3 separate regions of the Homo sapiens genome follow, and all the other regions are linked to region 3. Evidence: promoter capture Hi-C in 16 types of primary human blood cells and fetal thymus (Javierre and others, 2016). All regions are on one chromosome and are shown on one strand. The core of a region is centred on a gene start or on the middle of the fragment in contact, and the rest is flanking DNA. Distances in the headings are between cores, read along the strand shown. Region 1 overlaps ANKRD40CL (ANKRD40 C-terminal like). Region 2 has its middle 31 kb from the start of WFIKKN2. Region 3 holds the start of CACNA1G (calcium voltage-gated channel subunit alpha1 G).

Evidence for each region. The method cuts DNA at HindIII sites, captures the fragments that hold promoters and counts their contacts. A CHiCAGO score of 5 or more calls a contact.
Region 1: a fragment that was not itself captured here is called in contact with the fragment with the promoter of CACNA1G in region 3 in 6 of 17 cell types (M0 macrophages, M1 macrophages, monocytes and 3 more); the score reaches 12.9 in M0 macrophages.
Region 2: a fragment that was not itself captured here is called in contact with the fragment with the promoter of CACNA1G in region 3 in 7 of 17 cell types (M0 macrophages, M1 macrophages, endothelial precursors and 4 more); the score reaches 7.3 in M0 macrophages.

Annotation. Positions count from the first base shown.
Region 1 is chr17:50,761,553-50,765,639 of GRCh38, forward strand. It overlaps ANKRD40CL (ANKRD40 C-terminal like), which reads right to left. Exons shown (of 4, transcript NM_001358683.3): 3 at 1,845-2,005. Among named protein-coding and RNA genes, the nearest start is that of ANKRD40CL, 3.9 kb to the right of the region's middle. RefSeq lists a silencer at 4,086-4,087. The HindIII fragment of the contact is 1,184 bases long and covers 1,061-2,244 here.
Region 2 is chr17:50,802,924-50,807,032 of GRCh38, forward strand. No RefSeq gene overlaps it. Among named protein-coding and RNA genes, the nearest start is that of WFIKKN2, 31 kb to the right of the region's middle. RefSeq lists a silencer at 3,244-3,465. The HindIII fragment of the contact is 2,841 bases long and covers 746-3,586 here.
Region 3 is chr17:50,558,117-50,561,964 of GRCh38, forward strand. It overlaps CACNA1G (calcium voltage-gated channel subunit alpha1 G), which reads left to right and starts at 2,599. Exons shown (of 38, transcript NM_018896.5): 1 at 2,599-3,585. The coding sequence starts at 3,344. CACNA1G-AS1 (CACNA1G antisense RNA 1) reads right to left here. Exons shown (of 2, transcript NR_038439.1): 1 at 3,812-3,848. RefSeq lists enhancers at 2,149-2,198, 3,558-3,848 and a silencer at 2,419-2,798. The HindIII fragment of the contact is 9,044 bases long and covers 1-3,848 here.

The DNA.
Region 1 (4,087 bases), core at 403-2,902, 200 kb after region 3:
AATAGAAAACCTTAATATTAATATTGTTCAGCATCTTGGGTTCTGAACCCATAAGGTATTGTTTTTTTTGAGACAGAGTCTTGCTTTTGTCGCCCAGGCTGGAGGGCAATGATGCGATCTTGGCTCACTGCAACCTCCGCCTCCCAGGTTCAAGTGATTCTCCTGCCTCACTTGGCTCACTGCAACCTCAGCCTCCTGAGTAGCTGGGATTCAGACATGCGCCATCATGCCCGGCTAATTTTTGTATTTTTTATAGAGACAGTTTTCACCATGTTGGCCAGGCTGGTCTTGAACTCCTGACTTCAGGTGATCTGCCCACCTGGGCCTCCCAAAATGCTGGGATTACAGGTGTGAGCCACTGCGCCCGGTCCCCATAAGATAGTTCTGTATTTTTTTTTTTGAGACAGGGTCTCGCTCTGTCACCTAACCTGGAGTGCAGTGGCACAGTCACAGCTCACTGCAGCTTCAACCTCCTAGGCTCAAGCAATCCTTCCACTTCCACTGCAGCCTCCCAAGTCTACTACACCCAGCTAATTTTTGTATTTTCCTGTAGAGACAGGGTTTCACCATGTTGCCCAGGCTGGTCTCAAATTCCTGAGCTCAAGCAATCCGCCCACCTCGGCCTCCCAAAGTGCTGGGATTACAAGCATGAGACACCACACCCAGCAGATTTTTGTTGTTAAGGTATCTGGAAAGCATGATCATCCCTTGACATGTTAGTTTACAAAGAATATACACTATAAGCCAAGACACCAGTAAGGATTGCCAAAGGAACAGCAGCTCACCACCTGTTATCCCAGCACTTAGGAGGATGAGGCCAGGGGGTTGAGAACAGCCTGGGCAATATAGCCAGACCCATTTCAAAAAAAAGAAATTAATGGAGTGTGGTGGTGTGTCCCTGTAGTCCCAACTACTCTGGAGGCTAAGATGGGAGGATCACTTGAGCTGAGGATTTCGAGGCTGCAGTGAGCTATGATCACGCCATTGCATTCTATTGTGGGTGACAGAGACCCTGTCTCAAAAAAACAAAAAACAAAAAAATTGCCAAAGGAATTTTGAAAGCTTTAAAGAAAAATTTCCAAAGAAATAAGATTTCCTTTCCAAAATTAAAAATTAAGATCTGTATTTTAAATCTGGGAAATATATAAAAATGCAAAACAATTTTTGTTTGCTAATATTTCAAATACTTAGCAAACCCACCCTTTGCTAAGCAAACAAGGATGGGTTTGTGTTTTTTTTTTTCCTGAGGACTATGCCATTTTATGTTAACCAGTCAATTTTGCAGAGATTGGTGGGGCCAAAAGCACTGAACTAAAGCCTTAAATTGGGGAGTCACTTGTCATTCAGAGGTTTGTTTTTTTTTGAGACAGGGTCTAGCTCTGTCGCCAGGCTGGAGTGCAGTGGTGCTATCTCAGCTCACTGCAACCTCCTCCTCCTGGGTTCAAGCAATTCTCCTGCCTCAGCCTCCTGAGTAGCTGGGATTACAGGCACGCGCTGCCATGCCCAGCTAATTTTTGTATTTTTAGTAGAGACGGGTTTTCACCGTGTTGGCCAGGATAGTCTCGATCTCTTGACCTTGTGATCTGCCCACCTCGGCCTCCCAAAGTGCTGGGATTGTACTGGTGTGAGCCACCGTGATCGGACCATTTAGAGGTTTTTAAAAGGTTTATGGATTAGATGTGCAAATCTTAAAAGCGCCAGATTGAAAATGACCTAGCTACCATGTTTGGCCGTTTTGCAGCCAGGATTTCTGGTGTCATGAAATGCAGAAGTGTAAACGATTGGCTCCAGAGAACATGATGTCACCCACTGTGATTCTGCATTTAGAAACTCTTAACCCTTACCTTTCTGAGCAGTGTGTTTGGTAGCTTTCTGATCTTCTCCACTCGTTCTGGTTTAATCCCCAGTTCACAGCAACTCACGTTTAGTAGGTTTTGGTAACTCAGTTCTTGTCTCTTCAGTTCAATTTCAATGAAGTCATTTTCTTTGGGGTTCTGAATTCTGACTTTAAACACAAGCTCTAAATCACCCATAAATTCAAATACAGTTTGTAAAGGAAACAAAATACCTGTCAGAGATTTTCATATCTATTATTACAGCATAAATAATCCTAAAAACTGAATGTTAAGTAGACATGGAGCTTTCATGGGCACATACACACTTTGCATTAGCTGAGGGTTCTTTTCTTGGAGTGTTGGGCAAGCTCTGGGATGTATGCCCCCATTATATCCACTGAAGACAGAAAGCTTGCAGCTTTAAGCCAGCCAAGGATTTAAAATATGCAATGGATATTTAAACACATCACCCTTGGGCAATACATAGCAGGTGCTCATACCTTGTTGCTTATCTGGAAAGCTTCAGGGAAATGTATAGCCCTGGGGGCCCTGGTGTCCTTAAAGAAGCTATTGTGCAGAGGAGCAAATCGCTCTTGAGATTCCTACCCACCACCCCCACTCCTCCAGAAATAGGATAATTCTACCATCTTTCAGGACAGTGGCATTGTATTCCAACTTAACTGTCCTGAGAAGATACAGTATGAACTAAAAGTCCAAATGGAAAGCAGATGGTCAGTTTGGCTTTGCAACCTGGTCACATAGGGGCTGAGTCTTCACCTAGACAGGTGTCACTGGGTTTCTTGTTATCACTTGGGTCCGTTGTTGGCAAGTGTGGATTTGTGCCTTCTTGTTTATATTCACCTGGGAATCAGGAAAGAGTTGAGAAGGAGCAGTACCTGACCAGTTGGCTGTCTGCCAGACAAAGGACAAGGATGCCCCACTTCCACTTCCTGCCCTGCAGCTTATCCTCCCCTTCTCAAGGGAAAAGGCAAGTCAGGAAAAGGGCAGTAATGACTTTCAGTCTTGAAGAGTAATTTTCTTTAATCACCACCCAAATCATGAAAAGGAGCTGAGACAGTATTTTTAAATGGTGCGTAATCTGGGGAAGAAATATTTATAATCTCTGTGCTTAGCTCAAGTTTTTACTTAAATATTTTTGGCACAGAGTGCTTTATGTCTTCAGTTCTCTAGCAGAGATACAGTTAGGAGGGTGTCTTTATAAGGAGAAATTTTCTCACCCAGAGGGAAGGGAAAGGAGTGAATATTTAGAGTGCTTTGCATATGCCAGGCCTTTTGTGTATTTCTTTCTTTCTTACAATATCCACTGAACATGTTGAAAGCCTGCTTTGCACCAGGCACTGGGCTAAGCCCTGGGGAAATCATGTTCAAAAATCCCAAAGATGTCTCTGTGCTCCTGGAGTTTGCAGGCCAGCAGAAGAGACAGATATTAATAAATGGGAAATCACAGTTGTCGGGGCATGATGAATGTGAAATACACAGTACTTTGAAAGCATGTTAGGGGTCAAGGGAGGCCTCCATGAAGGTTGATTATTTGAGCTGACATCTGAAGGATGAATAGGCTTCACTAGATCCAGAGGGCAGAGGAGGTGAAGAGCTTTTCACAGGGCCCTGTGGAGAGTTCAGCATGGCTGCAGGGCAGAGAGCATGGGGGGACTGAGTGTCAGACAGGCTGGCAGGGGCCAGTTAGTCCAATTATGTAGCTTCTTGTCACATGAGATAAGATACACGATAAGGTAAAATATACCCTGGATTTTGGAGGCAATAAAAAATTTTCATACTTATATGTTGACATAATGATTTGCATATAGCGGGCAAAGTATATTATTAAAATTAGTTTCACCTGTTTTTACTTTTTAAAACATGGCTACTAGCAATTTTAAATTACATATGTGGCTTGCATTACATTTCTATTGGGCAGCATTAGTCTAGATGAAAGGTTTTGGTCTTTGTCCTAAAACACCACCAAGCCATTCTGGTTTTTAGCAGAGAGCTGTCATAATCAGACTTGCATTCTGGAAAAGAGAAAAGCCTCACTGTCCCCAAAAGAATCCTGTGGGGTATGCACATTATTATTTTCATTTTCAGACAGGAAAATTGAGGCTGAAAGGGGAAGTAGTTTGTTCAGGTTGGTAAATGGCCAGATATGGATGTGACCAGGGCCAACTACATAATTTGCAAAGCCGAGTGCAAAAGGAAAATGAAGAGGAAGCCAATTTCCCCTTCTCACAGCC
Region 2 (4,109 bases), core at 916-3,415, 240 kb after region 3:
GCTCATGCTGCTACCAGGCCTTTCTCCTTCTCTAGGAGGCTGGCTGTGAGGCAGGAGGGGAAGAAAAAAGGTGACAGTGTTTCACTTTTGTTTTGTTTTGTTTTTTTGAGACAGGGTCTTGCTCTGTGGCCCAGGCTGGAGTGCAGTGGCACAATCATGGCTCACTGAAGCTTCAACCTCCCATCCTCAAGCAATCCTCCTGCCTCAGCCTCCCAAGTAGCTGGGACCACAGGCGTGCGCCACAACACTCGGCTAATTTTTTATTTTTAGTAGAGACAAGATCTCACTATGTTGCCCAGGCTGGTCTCCAACTCCAGGGCTCAAGTGATCCGCCCACCTTGGCATCCCAAATGCTGGGATTAGAGGCGGGAGCCACCGTGCCTGGCTGTAGGTGTTTCTTGTGTCTCTGGTGAACCCTAGGAAGTATACTCAAACGAGTCAAAACCAAACCAAACAACAGGCCCCGATTGGAAGGACACCAGGAAGCTGAGAATGGCAGCAACTGGGGTGTCTCTGAAGACCTCACAGGCCACCGTTAGAGACCCAGCCCCTGTGGGCTTCAGCAGCTCCAGGCCACCTCCTTCCAGTCCTGCCCCCTGCACCTGTGAGGCAAGCTTGGCAGAAAAGTCCGGAGAAAGAGATCCAAAGGGTCTGGCTTGTAACCTCTTTAGGTGGGAGAAACGAGTTCAGTTTGAATCACAGGCCTCACCCTGCAGCCTGCGGCAGAGTCTTGGGGAAAGAAAGAAGCTTTGCTTTCATTAAAACTCAGAAACAGCCAGAGGCACCTTTTTCTTAAAGCCAGTATCTGCAGAGAAAAACAGCAGACTGGTCTCGCTTAGTAAGTGAAACAGAGGGACCTAGTTTAGATGGGGAAAAAGAAACACAAAACAAAGGACAAGAACCCAGTGAGTTTGCTGAGCGTATTTGCAGCTGAAGTGATTGACAGTGGGTGCAGGTCCTGAACCATGACTGTGTCCTGTGCTATCGAGCTTCATTTCACTCAGTTACCTAAAGTGTGTTCTACATCCTCGAGATTTATAATGATGATAATGGGGATGATAATGACTCATGTATTTTATTGTTCCTACTTTTCAGGCACAGTTTTTTGTTTGTTTGTTTGTTTTTGAGATGGAGTCTCGCTCTGTCGCCCAAGCTAGAGTGCAGTGGCAGATCTCAGCTCATTGCAAGCTCCGCCTCCCAGGTTTAAGCGATTTGCAGCTAATTTTTTGCATTTTTAGTAGAGACAGGGTTTCACCATGTTGGCCAGGCTGGTCATGAACTCCTGACCTCAAGTGATTCGCCTTCCCTGGCCTCCTAAAGTGCTGGGGTTACAGGCGTGAGCCACCACGCCCGGCATCAGGCACAGTTTTTAAGTGAGTTATATGTCGTAAATCCTCAAAATATTCCTATGGAGTAAGTACTATTATCCCATTGTACAGATGAGGAACCCGAGGCACAAAGTTATATGAAAAAGGCTCTGTAGAAAAAAATTAGAACAACAAAAATTATCTTTTTCTCTCTCTTTTTTTTTTGTTGTTTTTGCTTTTTTGGTTTTTTTTTTATGGAGATGAGGGTCCCACTATGTTGCCCAGGCTGGTCTCGAACTCCTAGGCTTCACGATCCTCCTGCTTCGGCCTTCCAAAGTGCTGGGATTACAAGCATGAGCCTCTGCACCTGGCCACTCATCCTTGTGTATGGAGTGGCTGGACAAAACACAAAGTCACTTAAGATAGACACTGAAGAGTCTACTTTAATTGCACATAGGGCCTTTGCCTAATGAGTCACATAATCGGGGCTCCGTGGAGTCATTAATATTTCACATCTTTTCCCATCAGCACAAAGTAAACACTATTTTAATAACCGCAATACTGCTTCTTTTTTTGGGCCCAGGAAATTGCTTGGTTCATTGTTCCATTTTAGAAAAGATTAAACAAAATTGATTTTCATAATTGTCATTCTGTACTTTTTTTTTGAGACAGAGTTTCACTCTTGTTGCCTATGCTGGAGTGTGATGGCGCAATCTCAGCTCACCGCAACCTCCACCTCCACCTCCCGGATTCAAGCGATTCTCCTGCCTCGGCCTCCCAAGTAGCTGGGATTACGGGCATGCACCACCACACCTGGCTACTTTTGTATTTTTAGTAGAGATGGGGTTTCTCCATGTTGGCCAGGCTGGTCTTGAACTCTCGACCTCAGGTGATCTGCCCGCCTTGGCCTTCCAAAGTGGTGGGATTACAGGCGTGAGCCACCGTGCCCTACAGTTTTTTTTTTTATTTTTTAGACAGAGTCTGGACAGAGTTTTGCCCTGTCATCCAGGCTAGAGTGCAGTGGTGTGATTTCGGCTCACTGCAATCTCCACCCCCCAGATTCAAGCAATTCTGCCTCAGCCTCCTGAGTAGCTGGGACTACAGGCGCACACCACCATGACCAGCTAACTTTTGTATTTTTAGTAGAGACAGGGTTTCACCATGTTGGCCAGGCTGGTCTTGAACTCCTGACCTCCAGTGATCCCCTGCCTCAGCCTCCCAAAGTGCTGGGATTACAGGTGTGAGCCACCACACCTGGACTCATTCTGTACTACTCGTCCCCAAGGGGAAATCTTATACTTTCTGATTCCACAATAAGTTCTGAGGAGGAGGTGAGGAGGGTTGCTGGTCAGACAGACACTGGGGAATCTACCTAGGAAGTGTCAATAGCCAGTTCAGCACACGCAGAAGTCCTGGCTGGACAGAGGAGGGCCCAGGTGTTCTGCATGTGGGAACACAGTCCTTAGGAACAGCTGGCTTGGAGGCGATGCTGCCTAAGCCAGCAACTTTTTCCAGGCCCCACTGGACGGCACCCAAGGACGTTATCCAGGCGAATGGTGACTCCCTGCAGGATCCATTCATTAGCCACATGGGGTGGGGGGAATGACATGGGGTGGGGGGAATCCCACAAGCCAAGGGTCAGTTACCAGGTGCAAACTGTCCAAGGAACACCTGGAGAACTTTCTTGCACTTTCTGACCTCCAGGGTCTCGACAAGCCTGGGCGTGCCCCAGAGGTCCAGTTTTTATGAATATTGGAGCTCCATGCTGTTCATCCAGGAAGCTCAAAGTTAAATGAAACACCTGGGGACCCCACAGAGTTATTATATTGTGGGGGGGTGCTAGTCTGGGCCCAGGCAGGATGCCCCATTTTCTCCACTTCAGGGAGCACCTGGGATTTGTGGTGGGAGATGGAGCTGCCCCCGTGAGGACTCTGGCTTGAAAGTGACAAAATCCAACATGAGCCAGCTTGGGCAGAAAGGGGGAATTTGCTAGAATCAACCAAAAACTTCAGCTGCACACTTGGCCGCTCCGCATGTGGGAAAGGCTGAGCTGCAGAGACCCTGCATCAGGTAGGGTTCCGGGATGGCATGGCAGCCCCACTAGGGCCACGTGGTTGGAATAGGGGGAGAAGCTGCCCCCAGGAAGAAAGGGTGTTCCCTGAAGAGGGCATGCGGCAGATCAAGAGGCAAATGTGCGCCTCACCAAGGAACTTGGCTTAGCGTTGCCAAATTTTCTCTGTGTTGGATTAGGGTCAAACTCTTGTTTGACTTGGCACAGAAGCTTGGAGGCCCGCTGGCTGCATGACTGCCTCACTCAGAGATGAGTATGGAGGGTCTAGAGGGGGCGCTGTGGGGCTCTGGCCAGAAACAGCCGAAAGTAGAAAACCATCCAAATATCCAAAAATTGATGAATGAATCAACACAATGTAGAACCTACAAACAACAGGCTGGGCGCAGTGGCTCATGCCTGTAATCCCAGCACTTTGGGAGGCCGAGGTGGGTGGATCACTTGAGGTCAGGAGTTTGAGACCAGCCTGGCCAACATGGTGAAACCCTGTCTCTACTGAAAATACAAAAATTAGCCAGGCGTGGTGGTGCACAATTGTAATCCTAGCTACTCGGGAGGCTGAGGCAGGAGAATCACTTGAACTCGGGAGGCGGAGGCTGCAGTGAGCCGAGATCGAACCACTGCACTCCAGCCTGAGTGACAGGGTGAGACTCCATCTCAAAAAAAAAAAAAAAAGAACCAACAAACAACAGAATATTATTCACCCATGTAAAGCAGTGAAGTACTGACACCCA
Region 3 (3,848 bases), core at 1,349-3,848:
ATAGCCCCTCTGGGAACACAGAGCCTAGATAGGGAGATGATCATTTCATTACTGCAAACACAAACATATAATCCCAGCCTGGGCTAAGTGCTGTGAAGTTCCAGACTTGTGTCTGGCTCGGTGCTGTATCCTAAGCACCTTGGCACTTAAGTGGCATTGAAATACTTGCTGGAAAGAAGGCCACTCTGAGGAGGTGATGTCAGAGCTGAGGCTTGGAGGGCTGGAGTTAAATAAAGATGGTTTCAGGTCTTCTTTGCCTTCCCTGTAGGTTCTGCCTCTGCCTCCTCTCTGGCACTCAGGCTAAGGGTAAGCATCTCCGACTGGCCATCAGCCCCAACATGCCGAGTACAGGGATCAGATCCTGTCTTGCGTGGCCGGTCTCCCCTAGGTCCTGAACCCAGGGAAGTGCATGTGGATCTCAATTTATCTAGATGGTGCGTTTGTGCCTGCCCTCCTTTCGGGCATGTTCTAGAACAGAGTTCAGTCCAGAGCCCAGGGGTGGCCGGGATGATGGATGAGGGTGTGGGGCCTGCTGACCACCAGGGGACCTGATCATTGGGCTGGGCCAGCCTCTCTGTCCTCATTTTCCCCTCTGCAAAGAAGGGGTGTTGGGCGTCCCTACTTCTCGCGCCAGCCCCGGGGCCTCTATCCTGGCGGGAAGGGCAGGCCGACCCGGCAGACTGCGGCCTCTCGGGAGGGAAGAAGGTGTCAGACGCGCGGAGCAACCATAAATAGCCCCCCTTTCCCAGAAGACGGCACGGGGTTCAAGACTCAGGCGCCGCATACTCAGAATGAGAGCAGAGACTCCCGCCAGGAAAAAAAGGCACTTAGGGGATCTGCTCATTAGCATGAAATGCAAATGAGCCCGCCCGGCCTCATTTACACAACTCTGTGCATGGATTCGGCGAAAGGGCAACCAGGGAGACGACGGCGCAGCAGCCACTCTGCCACTTCCCCCATCCCCTCCCCCCATCGGCCGGGGCGGGAACTGAGACGACCCCAACCCTCTGCGGTGGCGGGAGGTGCGCGGGGGCTGCGTGGGTGGTGCAGCCTTAGGAGAGTGAACAACGCCCAGGGGTGATGGCCTCAGCAAAGTGAGGGGTGGTGATGGAGGTCATCCGACCCATCCCGCCGCCTCTCCGCAGTGGCGCAAGCGCCCCAAAATCTCCGGAGAGGGAACTGACTGACCCACTAGGTTCCGCCGTGTCTACCTCTCGCAGATGTTGGGGAAGTGCTTCCCGGCGTCTAATCCTCGCTGTTCCCCCCTCCACCGGCGCCCAGCACACCCGCGGCGCTCCGCTCCCGGGTACCCACAGCTTTCTGGAGTGGCGCCGGCGGCAGGAGAGAGCTAGAGCCGACTGAGCCCCAGAACTCGGGGAGGTAGGCGGGGCAAGGGCCGGGGTCTGCGCGTGCGTGTGCACGCGTGGAAAGCACAAACCCACGAGGGCCCGCTGCCGGTAGGGTTAAGGTGAGTGAGTGAAGGCGGCAGACCCGCGAAGTTCCAGTTCCGCGGACACTCTTTCCCTAAGCCACATAGGGACTTAAGAGAAACTGAGGCACGAAGTTGGGGGGTGGCGGTGGTGGGGACTTTGAAGGTCGAGTCGATAAAGCCCAGCTCTGTGCTTCCGCCCCCTCCCACACACTCGAGACCCCCACAGGTTCCTTCTTAGGGGTCCTCGCTCTGCTCCGCAGCCCCTCCTGGGGATCCGGGCTCTGCGGTCCAGCGCGACCTGCCTGGGGCCACGTGTTCAAGCACGAAGCCCCTGCGTGGAGTCCACGCCCTTCAAAAGGTCCCTAGGGGCAAAGGGATGAAGCCCAGGAGCGTCAATGTGAGGTCAGGTCCAGCGGGTTAGGGTTACGAGGTCAGGGTCGAAGTCTCAGAATTGACTCGGGAGTATGACCAATAAGCCCAAGAGATTTGTGGAGGCCACGCCCAGACCATGCCTACCCTAGCCTTTCTCGAGCTCCGCCCGTTTCTCCAAGACTGGGCCCCTCCAGCCTGAAGCCCCACCCCCAGGACATCCAGCTCCGCTCCTTCCCTCCCCCAGTCCCGCAGCCAAGCTCAACTCCAGGGTGGGAGATTAACCAGGTGGAGACCTGGGATTTCGCTCTGGGACCCCCTGGTGACAACCCTCACCCCCGTGCCGCCTGTCTCCTTTCTTCCCCAGGCCCGCCCAGAGCTGAGCTCCGTCCTCCGGCTGCTGCCCAAATCAGGGGTCGTGGACAAAGGATGCCTGGGGCCTGCGGCCCTACGCCAGGACCCCGCGCCGAATACTCTGATTCTTCGGGCTCCCTCCAAGGGAGTCCCAAAGACCCCAATGGCCAATAGGAAAGTGGGTTCGGTCTGGGCAGCAGTCTGATTGGCTCCAGCCTTCGGGAGCGGACCCAGGGGCAAGGGGAGGGGAGAGGGGCGGTCCTGGGTTTTGGGGTGGGAATCGGATTCCAGCTGTGGTTCTCTCCCTGCGCTCCCGCCCGCACTGCCACGGCGGACGGCCAATGGGCGCGCGGCTCGGGGCCGGCGGCGTCCGGCGATTGGCTGCGGGGCTGTCTGGGGGCGGGGCCGAGGCTTGAAGTTGAAGTGAGGGATCCAGCTGTGGTGTGCGCGGGGCTCCTCGCCGCCGCTTTCGCTCGCTCGCTCCGCGTCTCGGCCGGAGGAGGAGGCTGTGGCGCCGGCGACAGCTACGGCAGCGGCAGCCACCGCGGCGGCTGCGGCGGCGGCATCTCCGCCTCCACTCCCGCCCGGGACTGCCCCCCACTGTCTCCCCGCCCCTCCCGGACAGTGAGCCCGCGGCGGGGCGGGGGAAGGAGCCGCCCCCACCCCCTCCAAGCCCACCCCTAAAGAGATCCCTCCTCCCCTCCCCCGCCGCCTGGCGCGGAGCCGGGACGATGCTGACCCCTTAGATCCGGCTCCAGCTGCGCCGCGGGAAGAGGGGGCGCCCCTCCCCGGACCCCCGCCCTCCGCCGCTGCCCCCCTTTTCGTTCGCCCTCTCGGGGCGGCTTCGCCGAAGGTAGCGCCGAATCCGGCAACCGGAGCCTGGGCGCGAAGCGAAGAAGCCGGAACAAAGTGAGGGGGAGCCGGCCGGCTGGCCCGGGAAGCCCCAGGGGCGCAGGGGAAGCGGGACTCGCGCCGGGCGGGGTTTCCCTGCGCCCCGGCGCCCCGCGGGCAGCATGCCCCTGCGGGCAGGGGGAGCTGGGCTGAACTGGCCCTCCCGGGGGCTCAGCTTGCGCCCTAGAGCCCACCAGATGTGCCCCCGCCGGGGCCCCCGGGTTGCGTGAGGACACCTCCTCTGAGGGGCGCCGCTTGCCCCTCTCCGGATCGCCCGGGGCCCCGGCTGGCCAGAGGATGGACGAGGAGGAGGATGGAGCGGGCGCCGAGGAGTCGGGACAGCCCCGGAGCTTCATGCGGCTCAACGACCTGTCGGGGGCCGGGGGCCGGCCGGGGCCGGGGTCAGCAGAAAAGGACCCGGGCAGCGCGGACTCCGAGGCGGAGGGGCTGCCGTACCCGGCGCTGGCCCCGGTGGTTTTCTTCTACTTGAGCCAGGACAGCCGCCCGCGGAGCTGGTGTCTCCGCACGGTCTGTAACCCATATCCTTCGGGGCACGACGGCCAGGCGCGGGGTCAGAAGGGGGACGGGCCGCACCGCCGGGGGTCGGGGGGGAAGAAGACCCACCGCCAGGTGAGTCGAAGTGAGCCCGGAGGGTAGGCGGATGGGGGGGGGGCTGCCAGGGAGGGGAGGGGGCACCAGAGTGGGAGCGGAGACGCGAGCAGGTCTCGTCGGTAACCCGGGCTTACCCCACCTGCGTACACACACCTCAGTCTTCCTGGGTTGGGGGGGTGGGGATCCAGGC